4 separate regions of the Homo sapiens genome follow, and all the other regions are linked to region 1. The links are contacts of gene promoters, found by promoter capture Hi-C in blood cells and fetal thymus (Javierre and others, 2016). All regions are on one chromosome and are shown on one strand. Each heading gives the region's core, a stretch centred on a gene start or on the middle of the fragment in contact. The rest is flanking DNA. Distances are from core to core; before and after follow the strand shown. Region 1 holds the start of MROH9 (maestro heat like repeat family member 9). Region 2 has its middle 22 kb from the start of KIFAP3. Region 3 has its middle 120 kb from the start of GORAB. Region 4 overlaps LINC01681 (long intergenic non-protein coding RNA 1681).

Evidence for each region. Contacts are between HindIII fragments. The CHiCAGO score rates a contact against its expected background, and 5 or more counts as called.
Region 2: a fragment that was not itself captured here is called in contact with the fragment with the promoter of MROH9 in region 1 in 2 of 17 cell types (M1 macrophages and M2 macrophages); the score reaches 5.5 in M1 macrophages.
Region 3: a fragment that was not itself captured here is called in contact with the fragment with the promoter of MROH9 in region 1 in 1 of 17 cell types (M1 macrophages); the score reaches 5.5 in M1 macrophages.
Region 4: a fragment that was not itself captured here is called in contact with the fragment with the promoter of MROH9 in region 1 in 1 of 17 cell types (M0 macrophages); the score reaches 6.8 in M0 macrophages.

The regions. Positions count from the first base shown.
Region 1 is chr1:170,934,244-170,936,943 of GRCh38, reverse strand. MROH9 (maestro heat like repeat family member 9) reads right to left here and starts at 1,410. Exons shown (of 22, transcript NM_001163629.2): 1 at 1,357-1,410. The HindIII fragment of the contact is 7,245 bases long and covers 1,321-2,700 here.
Region 2 is chr1:170,095,693-170,098,392 of GRCh38, reverse strand. No RefSeq gene overlaps it. Among named protein-coding and RNA genes, the nearest start is that of KIFAP3, 22 kb to the right of the region's middle. The HindIII fragment of the contact is 385 bases long and covers 1,169-1,553 here.
Region 3 is chr1:170,412,512-170,415,211 of GRCh38, reverse strand. No RefSeq gene overlaps it. Among named protein-coding and RNA genes, the nearest start is that of GORAB, 120 kb to the left of the region's middle. The HindIII fragment of the contact is 2,538 bases long and covers 49-2,586 here.
Region 4 is chr1:170,237,302-170,240,001 of GRCh38, reverse strand. All of the region lies in intron 2 of LINC01681 (long intergenic non-protein coding RNA 1681), which reads right to left. Among named protein-coding and RNA genes, the nearest start is that of LINC01142, 46 kb to the left of the region's middle. The HindIII fragment of the contact is 1,013 bases long and covers 803-1,815 here.

The sequences.
Region 1 (2,700 bases), core at 161-2,660:
AATGCATGTTTCAATTAATTGAATAACTGTCTTTGTTTCTCACTTCTGTAATATGCTTCCCCCTACACAGATCTCCCCCACCCCACGAAATGATTAAAAGATAACTCTTTGTTCAGGGCTCAGTCCTTTGGAGGTTAATCCAACTGGGCCGGTGCACCTAAATAATAAATATCCTTCTCAACCCCATCGGTCTCTCTGATTCCTTATCAATCCCACTACATTTCAACATGTTAAATGGAATTATGAGCTTCTTATTGACTTTATTTGGAGATTAACTATGGCTTAAGGATATGTATATGGGTGCCAAATTTTCAACGTGGGAACTCATTATGGTTAGTTAATATTACGTGTCAAACTGAGTGAGCCATAGGATGCCCAGATATCTGGTAAACATTATTTTGGGGTATGTCTGTGAGGGTATTTCCAGAAGAGATTAGCATTTAAATTGGTGTTCTGATGATAGGAGATGACACTCCCTAATGTGGGTCAACATCTTCCAATCCATTGAGGGCCTGAATAAAACAAGAAGGCAGAAGAATGCTTAGTTTTCTCTTTGCCTGACTACTTGACTTGGGACACAAATCTGCTGCCCTCGGTGCTCTGGTTCTCAGATCCTCAGAACCAGGCTGGAATTTTTATCATCAACTCTCTTGCTCTCAGGCCTTCAAACTGCACCATTGGATCTCCTGGGTCTCTGTCTTGCAGAAAGCAGAATCCAGGACTTCCTAGCTTCTATTATTGTGTAAACCAATACCTTATAATAAATATATTTATCTATATAGTTGTGGTTTCTCTCATCCTTACTAATAAGATAATCCTTACTAGTAAGGCATGAAGTTAGGAGATTAATGAATAAAGACAAATTCTTCCAATTGCCAACTTTGGCAAGATTTCTGGATGAGGGCCCATAGTAATGTAATTTTCTTTTTCTTTTCTTTTTTTTTTTTTTTTTTTTTTTTTTGTCTCACTCTGTTGCCAGGCTGGAGTGCAGTAGCATGATCTCGGCTCACTGCAACCTCCACCTCCCGAGTTCAAGTGATTCTCCTGCCTCAGCCTCCTGAGTAGCTGGGATTACAGGCACCCGCCACCACACCCAGCTAATTTTTGTATTTTTAGTAGAGATGGGGTTTCACCAAGTTGCCTAGGGTGGTCTCGACCTCCTGACCTCATGATCCGCCCACAGCCTCCCAAAGTGCTGGGATTACAGGTGTGAGCCACCATACCTGGGCCATAACGTAATTTTCTAATGTATTCATGGTTCTTTTTCTTAACAGAACAAAAATTAAGAAAAGTAGTCAGGATTAGAAAAAAAGACAAGCTTTTGAATGACAGAAATATTAATAGGAATTCACTTACATATTTGTAACTTCTCTGTAATCACGGTGAGACAAAGTAGTGAAGAGAAACTCTAGTATATTACCTCTTAGCCAAAGGTAAAATACTCTAGGTAGTTATCAACCAAGCAAATTCTTTGAAATGTTGACACTCGTCATGGCAACCATATGTTTCAAAGATTCCATTCTGGAATGAATGTGGTAGAATGTCCTGGCATGCCCAAGTGGCTACTAATGCTCACCTGTCATTATTGAGGGGTGGGTAAGTTTCTGGTTTCTATGTTACAAGCACTGAAAGATAGTTCTTCAGACCAACAGTCCAGTAGAAGCTGGGCAAAGGATAAGAATAGAAAATTCACAGAAAAGGAAAACTGAATGGCCAATAAATATTTTAAAAGATTTTTAATCTCACTTGAAGTTATGAAAATACAAACCATTAAAATATTATTTCCCAGCTAATAAGTTAAAAAGTACTAAAATACAAGTAAAAATTAAAAAAAGATAATTTCAAATATTGGCAAAGATAAAAGAAAGTTGAACTTTCTCACACGACTGGTGGGATTATAAATGGATATAACTAGTTTGTAGAGAAACTTGTCAAGTTCTAGCAAAACTGAAAATCTACAACCCAGAATTTCCAGTTCTAGGTCCATAGAGTGTATAAACATGTATACAACTGATGCACTGAGAGACATGAAGGATGTTTATTGTAGCACTTTTTATAATAGAGTTATTAAAATATAATTCACATACCATAAAATTTATCTTAAAGTATATAATTCAATCATTTTAAATATATTTACAGAGGTATACAACCATCATTACTATCTAATTTTAGAACATTTTCATTTAGAACAAGCTCCAAAGAAACCCTGTACCTGTTAGCAGACATTCACCCTCCCTCTCCCCCAAGTACCTGGCAACCACTAATCTTCTGTCTGCCTTCTGGACATTTTATGTAAATAGATTTATACAATATGTGACTTTTTATGATTAGACTGTTTGGATTTTTATTACTGAGTTGTGATTTTTTAATATGTTCTAGATGCTAGTCTCTTATCAGATACATAATTTGCAAATATTCCTCCTTTTCTATGGGCTGCCTTTACATTTTCTTGACAGTGTCTCTTGAAGCACAAAAGTTTTAAATTTAAGTGAAATTTAAATTTGCCATTCTTTTTCTTTTATTGCTTGTGTTTTTGGTATCATAACTAAAAAAAAAGAAAAAGACATTGCCTGCATTCCCTGGCCCAACTTCACAGAGATTAGATTTAGAACTTTTCTAAGAGTTTTGTAGTTTTTGCCTTACATTTAGGTCTTTGGTTCATTCTGAATTAGTTTTAGTATATAGTGTGAGGTAGAGGTC
Region 2 (2,700 bases), core at 112-2,611, 840 kb after region 1:
TGCTTGATTTGTTCAAAAGCTATTTAAAATCCCTTGAACCTCAAATGTATGACTAGATCTTAATGCCACTCTCATTTACAGAAATACATATAAAGAAGCCAAAATATTTCATCTCATTCTTTCTTTTCAGTTTACTCCCCCAAAGGGACCTAATTGTGCTTCTTCAACACAAAGTGACAATTTTTGATACAGGTTTATTTAATTTTTAAAAAATTACTTAGAACAATCAAACATGAGCGTTAATGGGAAACATATGTGCCATTCCAAATATTCTGGAAATAAATGCAAAGCAACGTTCCAATCAACATGGGGTCAGGTTTCCTGGCCTGCTCGTGCACATGCAAAATCAGAGAGAGTGAGAGTAGGTGTGCAACCATTCATGACTAAATGTGTTTGTCTGTGTGTCTCCTGAAAAGTCTGCTTCTGCTGCAGCTCTTAGCAGCCTAGAGAAGCAATCTTTTACATGTAGCAAGACACACTCCAGGATATTAACACTCTGTCATTTCCAAGATCCTCTGTTCACCCCAGCTCCAGAGTAAACACCGTGAAAGAAGGAGCCTCGAGCTGCTAAAAAGCACACAAAGCAACAAGCAGTTTCAAACAGTTCCAACAGTTCCAAAACTCATAAAAATGGAAAATGTTTCAAGAACAACTGCCCGTTTGTTCAGAGAATGCCCACAGTGCAGGAGGGTAAATAAAACTTAGTACCTGTTAGATTTATAGGCAAATAACCATTATCTACTACGTGTAGATGAGTGAAGGATAATTTTATGCAAACCACAATAAGTAAATTCAAACAGTGTGGACTAAGCCTGCACAGTTAGTGCAGGAAGTTCAAGGGGGAAAAAAATAAGGAAATGGCATTTTCTGTGTGGTATATCACCAACCTGGGAAATCCATTACAGAGCCAAAAGCTGGAACAGGATTTTATAAAGGGATTGGCTGGAAATAGAATCCCTTAGGTTTTGTGTGGTGATTTCATACCTTAAGCAAAACTCTGCTCCCCAAGATCTAATTTCTAATTAATCTTTTGTAGAAGATTGTGGAGAATTAGTAAATTATAGTTTTTACATTACAGGGTATACAGTATAAATTATTTGGGAGCCTTCAAAGTGCATTCAACTTTTGAATGAATCAGTTTCAGTCAAGTATTATCAGGAGCCAAGCTTCCTAACTAATGCAGCTTAGTATTTTGTGGACTTGTGTCTCAAAGCTGAATAGTTAACTGGCAGTTTTATAAGATTTTTCAAAAGCAGGGCATTTGACTTCGTCCAAACTTTAAAATATCTTTAAATTCTGTGGTTTTTAAATTCAGAAGTGAAGTCAAGCCTTTTCGGGTTCAGATTTCATTTACATTTTGTCAAATGTGGTTTCCTGGGTGATGGTAGAAGATATTTTAAAAAGAAAGAAGGCAATTAAAGGATTATATATAATGCCTATAAGTGGATTCACTGAACTAGGGGCATCAATTTATTTCTAACGTGCCACGTTTTGATGAGGCATGTGTCAAAGAATTTGACATTTGTGGATTTTATTAGAAAAGTATATAAGCTTAACAGCAAAGAAGAAAACATTCTTAGAGCAAGACGGGTGTAAGTTTTAGTGAAACTAATTTTGTTTCAATAGTTCTGTTGAATTAAAAACTCCAGTGATTTCACAGTATGGGGTAGAAGTATAGCACATTTAATGAATTTGCAGAGGCTTTGAAGTCAGAAATAACTGGGTTTAAATATGGGCTCTGGAGAAAGGGAAGGAGAATTGAAAGCAAGGAAGGAAGAGAAGAAGGATTGGGAAGAATGAGGGAAGAAAGGAGAAAGAAAAGAGCATGCATTAATCAGTTTCTCTGCAACAGACACTAATTAAGCTGCTTTACTTACAGTTATCTCCTGCTGCTAGCTGTGGAATCTTGGGCAAATAACTTTAATTCCCTGGGCTTCAGGTTTCTCATCTATAAAAAGATTAACTATTGTAGTATCCTGGGAAGATGGCAGTGGCAGCACAGTTTTTTGTTTCTTCCCAGATCACCACATTAAAAAGAGCAAGCAACTAGACAGCAAAACCAAAATTCCAACAAATCTGTGTAACAGGATACCATGCAAACCTCAAAATACAAATGGATAGAGACAAACTACTAACAACCACAAGGAGAAGTAACAAGGCATTTGATGGTCCTGAGAACAAAAGAACCAAAACATCCAACAGATAATCCTTGGAAAGTACAAGTTCCAATCCTTGGAATCTGAGAAGAATGGCTGAAACTGAGCAGAGCTTGTTCATTCAACAAATTTTCACTGAGTGTAAATTATCTGCTGATTTACAGCAGCTCTGCAGCAGTCTATTCTCTAGGAGCTCTCAAACCTGATCCACCAGAGTTTCCTTCCAGGACAGGGCTCCATATTGAAGAGAAAATCCTCAGACTAGAAGCATCATTTAGCAGCAAAGAGATAATAGACAATATTTTCTTTCTTTCTTTTAAAGGAAAAAAAAATACAGATAAAAGTGGCGAACGGGAACAAAGCTAGGAAATTTCACAAAGCAAGATGCTATATTTTTTAAGATGAAACACAAACAGCAGAAGAGGAGGGTCTGTGAAGTTAGAAAAGCTGCTATTTTCTAAACATTCAGGAAAATTAATTTCATAAAAAATAAACAAGTAAGTATATCAAGGTCAAATCTCATACAATCACAATGAAATCACAC
Region 3 (2,700 bases), core at 68-2,567, 520 kb after region 1:
CTGTGACTTTGCCAAGGTCATGAGTCTATTCAGCATCTGGGCCAAGCTTCAAACTCACTCACATAGTTGTCTGAAAATAAACATTGAATGAAAGTATTCTGATTGTGATTTACTCATTTTCCCTCTTTGGTCGTCTAATAAGTGTTTTTGTGCTGTCCTCTAAAACCTTATAGAAAGATTATTTTACTACTTCTGGAGGAGAAAACTCACATATCACTATTTAGTCTATTTACTTCATTTCTATAAAAGACCATCTTGAGAATGTGTTTTATACACTCCAGGTCCACATAAACATAAAATTTGATCCCTTATGAATAGAAATGTTTGTAGTGGATTCTTAAAAGGCAACAGTGTTCTGATGCAGCTTTCCCACAGGAAAGAGTTCCCGAATTCCCAAATTCCTGTTGATGATGCCAATTTCTCTTGAAATTAAGACTTTGTTTATTTCACCCTCACTGTCATTCTTGCCCATTCACCATACCTCCAGTTTAAGTTCAGCCTCTTTTTTTTTTTTTTTGAGATGGAGTCTCGCTCTGTCGCCCACGCTGGAGTGCAGTGGCACAATCTCGGCTCACTGCAACTTCCGCCTCCCGGGTTCAAGCGATTCTCCTGCCTCAGCCTCCTGAGTAGCTAGGATTACAAGCGCACACCACTATGCCCAGCTAATTTTTTAATTTTTATTTTTATTAGAGATGGGGTTTCACCATGTTGGCCAGGCTGGTCTCAAACTCCTGACCTTGTGATCTGCCCACCTTGGCCTCCCAAAGTGCTGGGATTACAGGCGTGAGTGAGCCACTGCACCCGGCCAAATTCAGCCTCTCTTTAGATACTTCTGTCTTAGCTCCTTACTCAACACCTTTTTGGCTTCAGTTCAAAATTGCTCTCCGAGAGGACTAAATAACCTTGATGCTCATTGTCACCTCTTTACTGCCCTTAGTCATTGATTGGCATGTTTTTGTCTATCCAGGTCCTGGTGCAAAGTGCCCTGCTAAGTTCTCCTGAGCTTAACATCTTCTTTCTATTAATACATCCTAAATTCTTGACACTTTTATCTTCTCTCTTACTTTCTATATTTATTACGTTTGAAATAAATACACACAAAATAATACATCAATCAACTTCATCCCTGTAACTCTTGCATATATGCATGTGTGTAGTTTTAACAAATGATAATACAAACACTTGTGTGTACACCATCAAGTTTAAGAAATAGAATACTGTTGATGTTGTTGAAGCCATTATAGGCTCCTCCTGATTGCACCTGCCTCCCTTCCAAATATTTATTATTCCATTGCTTTTCTTTATAATTTTACTATTTATGCATATGCCCCTAAGAGATGTTTAGTTTTGCTTTTGTTGAGGTTTAAAAACATGGCACCATATATATATATATATAGCTTTTTGTGACTTGCTTTTCCTGCTTACTATTTTGTTAAATTATTGCTTATCAATACATGTTACTTAATTAGTTTTCATTGCAGTAAGGAATTCCATTATATGACTATTTCACAACTTATTCATACTTTCTACTTTTGACTGATAGATATTTGGGTATTCTCAGTTATTTGTTTTTACAGAAATTGCTGTTATGAACATGTTTATTCATGTCTCCTGGCTTATTCATTAAATATTTTCTCCAGAGTATAAAAGAATAAATTTATTTTTACATTATAGGCTATAAGTATTTTCAACATTATACCTCAACATTATTAGGTAATGTAAAACTGTTTCCTGAAGTCACTGTACCATTTATATTCCCATTACTCCACAATCTCTCCAAAACTTGGATTTATCCAACTGTTTTTTGTTTTTGTTTTTTGCTAATTTGGGTGTGTGAAATTTTATCTCATTCATAATATTAATATGCATTTCCCTAGTTATTAATGCAGTTGAACATTTTTACATTCAGACAGGCCATTCCTGTTTCCTCTTTTAATATATGAACATGCATATTCATGCATTTTGCCTACTTCTAAGAAATTGAATGGTCTGTCTTTCTGTTGTTTATTTATATGAGTTCTTTTTATATTCTAGATTCTAGGCTTTTTGTTCATAATGTATTGTAAATATTGTCTATGAATTTGTGACTTTTTTACTTTTTTGGGGTTTCCTTTTGATGTTCAAAAGTTCCTAATTTTAATATAGTCAAATTTCTTTACTTTTCTTCATAATTAGCATTTTAAAAATTTTGTTTAAGAAATCCTTCTCTGCCTTGGGTTCACGAATTATTCTGCTAGTTCTTTCTAAAACTGTAAAATTTTTCTCTAGAGCTATATGGATTTTGTATGACTGTGTAGTATGAGATATAATCTTCTTTTTCTTATGAATAGGCAAATGGACCACTACTATTTATTGAACAGTCTAATCTTTCCTCACTAATCTGTAACAAAAGCTCTGTTATATATCAGGTTTCCATATTTGGCTGAGTTTATTTGGGGCTCTGTATTTCATTCCACTGGGCTATGTGTTTATATCTGTACCAATAGCATATTTACTTATTAGATTAATTTTATATTAAGGAAAGATTTCTGGTGTGGTGAGTCCTTTCAATATAATTCTTTAAGAATATCTTGGCTACAACAAGCTTCACAAAATGAGTTGGGCAGTTTTCCTCTTTTTCTCTTATTTGAAAAAGTTTTGTGTAAGATTGAAATTACCTGTTTCTTAAATATTTGATCTAATTTATCTGAAAATGTCTTT
Region 4 (2,700 bases), core at 60-2,559, 700 kb after region 1:
CAAAACAATGATTTATAAAATGTTGCAGATTTCTAAATAAATGTTAAGCATCTCCTGGTTATTAAAGATTGCTAACCAGTATTTAATTTATCTGTGTTTCCTCCTGTTAACCAAGCAAGTATACAAAAAGAGTTGCTATTAATTATCATGCCATATTTTCAAAAACAACACACTATATTAACTTTTGCTTATCACAGACTGCCCTAATCTAAGTCTGATTGTATGGCTTTTAGATCGTCTTTTGGTTTGATAAATACATCAGAATCCCCAATAACTGTTGAGATTTCATTTCCACCCCACCTAACTATTGCTCATCTCATTCTTACTCATGCAATTCCTCCTCCCTCCCCACCCATACACAGCAATGCTGCTTTTGCAATTTGTCAACCTGAAGGCAATAACAGTTGTCAAACTGACCGTGCAACTTTTTGGCAACCCACACAAATCACTGTGTATCTCTGTACTTCTCTCTCCTTTTATCAATGATTTGGGAGTAATCATCCTGGTTGCCTGCTTTGTTCTCGTGAGTTTGGAGGGCACTGACATTCATGGAACATTGTGAACTAAGAAGAAAGTTGCTTATAAGTGTCTCGAACTACCATTTTCACATGTCTTAACTGCCATAACAGGGAGGAAAGTCTTCACAATTTGAAAGGCTGCCTGAAACTTAGTCCCACTGCACCAAACCTTTGATCTTTTGGTCACACCGTCAGTCTCTTGAAAACTCAGTTCTCTTGTAAAATTTTCAGTCTGCTCCCAAAACAATTGTTGCATAAGTTCTGAAAGCCAGGCCCACAAAGCTTCGCTTTGTTCTGGAAAGTTCCCTAAATAGAGTTAGGTAACAACGGCATTAGCACTAAGACTGAGGAGTCATGGCATCCAATCACACACAGCTCTCTGTTTTTCTTTCTCTCAACGTCTCTTTTTCTTTTCCTCTTCTCTTCCCCTTCTTTTTCAATTTCTTCCTCCTCCTCTCTTCTCCTTTGTTTCCTTCTCCCACAAAAAGTGTTTGCTTTTCCCCGCAAACGCTTCTGAGCCTTGGACCAGGCTCTGATTTCACCAGCTTTGCTTAAGCAAGACTTGCTGCTTCACCTAAGGACAAAGGTGTTTCCAGGTTTAACTAAAAACTGGATGGGACATTACATAACAGAGTGAAGTGAGGCTCCCATTGCCAAAGTGCTACAAAAACACTTTTTCTCACAATGTTTCAGAACTTTTGCAACAGGGTATCTACGAGAATTAAAACATGGGTTAAAAATATGTAAGATCTCATGCCAAATAATTGAAAACAAACAGTTGATTTACAGTAAGATCTTGCTAGTTTTCACTCTTCTGAAATGAACCTGATTCTTTTGTTTTAATAGCAGGGTTTATTTGCTATATACATTGAAATACTTTAAATTATTGAGCATTTTTGAATATTAAGAACTTTTGAAATAAATCATGAACTGATGTTAGGAACAATTTTAAGTGTGTCACATTTGTCGGTATGAATTAACCTAATGCATTTTATTTGAGGGGCTTCTCTACATTTTCTTCTCTTGCTTGTGAGAGTCTGTGACATTTCACAATGAAGATAGCCTCTTGTGTAAGCATAAATTAGGAGAAGCCACCAAGGCTGAGATTAATAGCTTAAGTTATTTTCACTAAATTTAAGTAGATTGATTAAATCATTCCACAATGTAATCATGTATCAAAACATCACAATGTACTCCCTAAATAGATGCAATTATTATTTGCCAGTTAAAAAGTTTTAAAAAGAGGTTTACTTCGTGAAGAGCAAAAAATATTTGGCAACAGTAATCAAATGAAGCTTATATATCATAGTCAAAATATAATTGTATCAGAATTCCTGATGATTAAAGCACATCTAGAAAGAGCCCGGCCCACTGTGCTCCTGCCCACGACCAAGGCCTCAAAGAGGTCTCTCTAATCATTCCCACTCTCATTTCTGGCTGTACTCCTATTTCTTACTATGCTGGGGTAACATGTTTGTAGACTATTTTAAGAACTATATTGAGCAGCTTCTTCAAACAGGTATACTTACTCTTGGGAGTACATAAAACCTTTCAGAAGACATGCAAACACAAACTGTTCTAAGGAAATCAATTTCCAGATACTTAGCTTCCACATCCACTCTTTCCTAAAAGTAGTCTGCCTAAGGTGCCTTCCATGAACTCTTCATAACCCTTTCCTTCCCATTCGCTTTGTTATCCTTGCTGGAGCGATGCATTGTCTTGCGATGTAATAATCTCTGGGATGTCAAACAAAGGAATAATTTGAAATATTTGTGTCACCTCATTTAATCAAAGCACCATAAAACCTGACCACCGATCATGCTAAGAAAAGCATCTCCAATACAATATTATTTTTGATATTTAAAAATTATAATTTGTGTGTATTTTTGATCACTTCCATATGAAAAATAACTGTTATGATAATACAGAAGAAAATTATAGGTCTTCAAACTCTAGGACCATAGAAAATTTTTATTGCAACTAGTAGGCAGAGCTAAAAATGTAGCAAAAGGAATCTAAATTTAGACATAAAGTTCTGACTATGGAGGTAGTGAAAAAAACACAGAATGGAAATTTTAAAATTTTTGTTGTATAGGCATATAAAAGGGTAACCAATAACAGATATTCACTTTTAAAATTATATTGCATTGGTGTAAAAGTCTAAGAGGAAGTGGAATGGAAA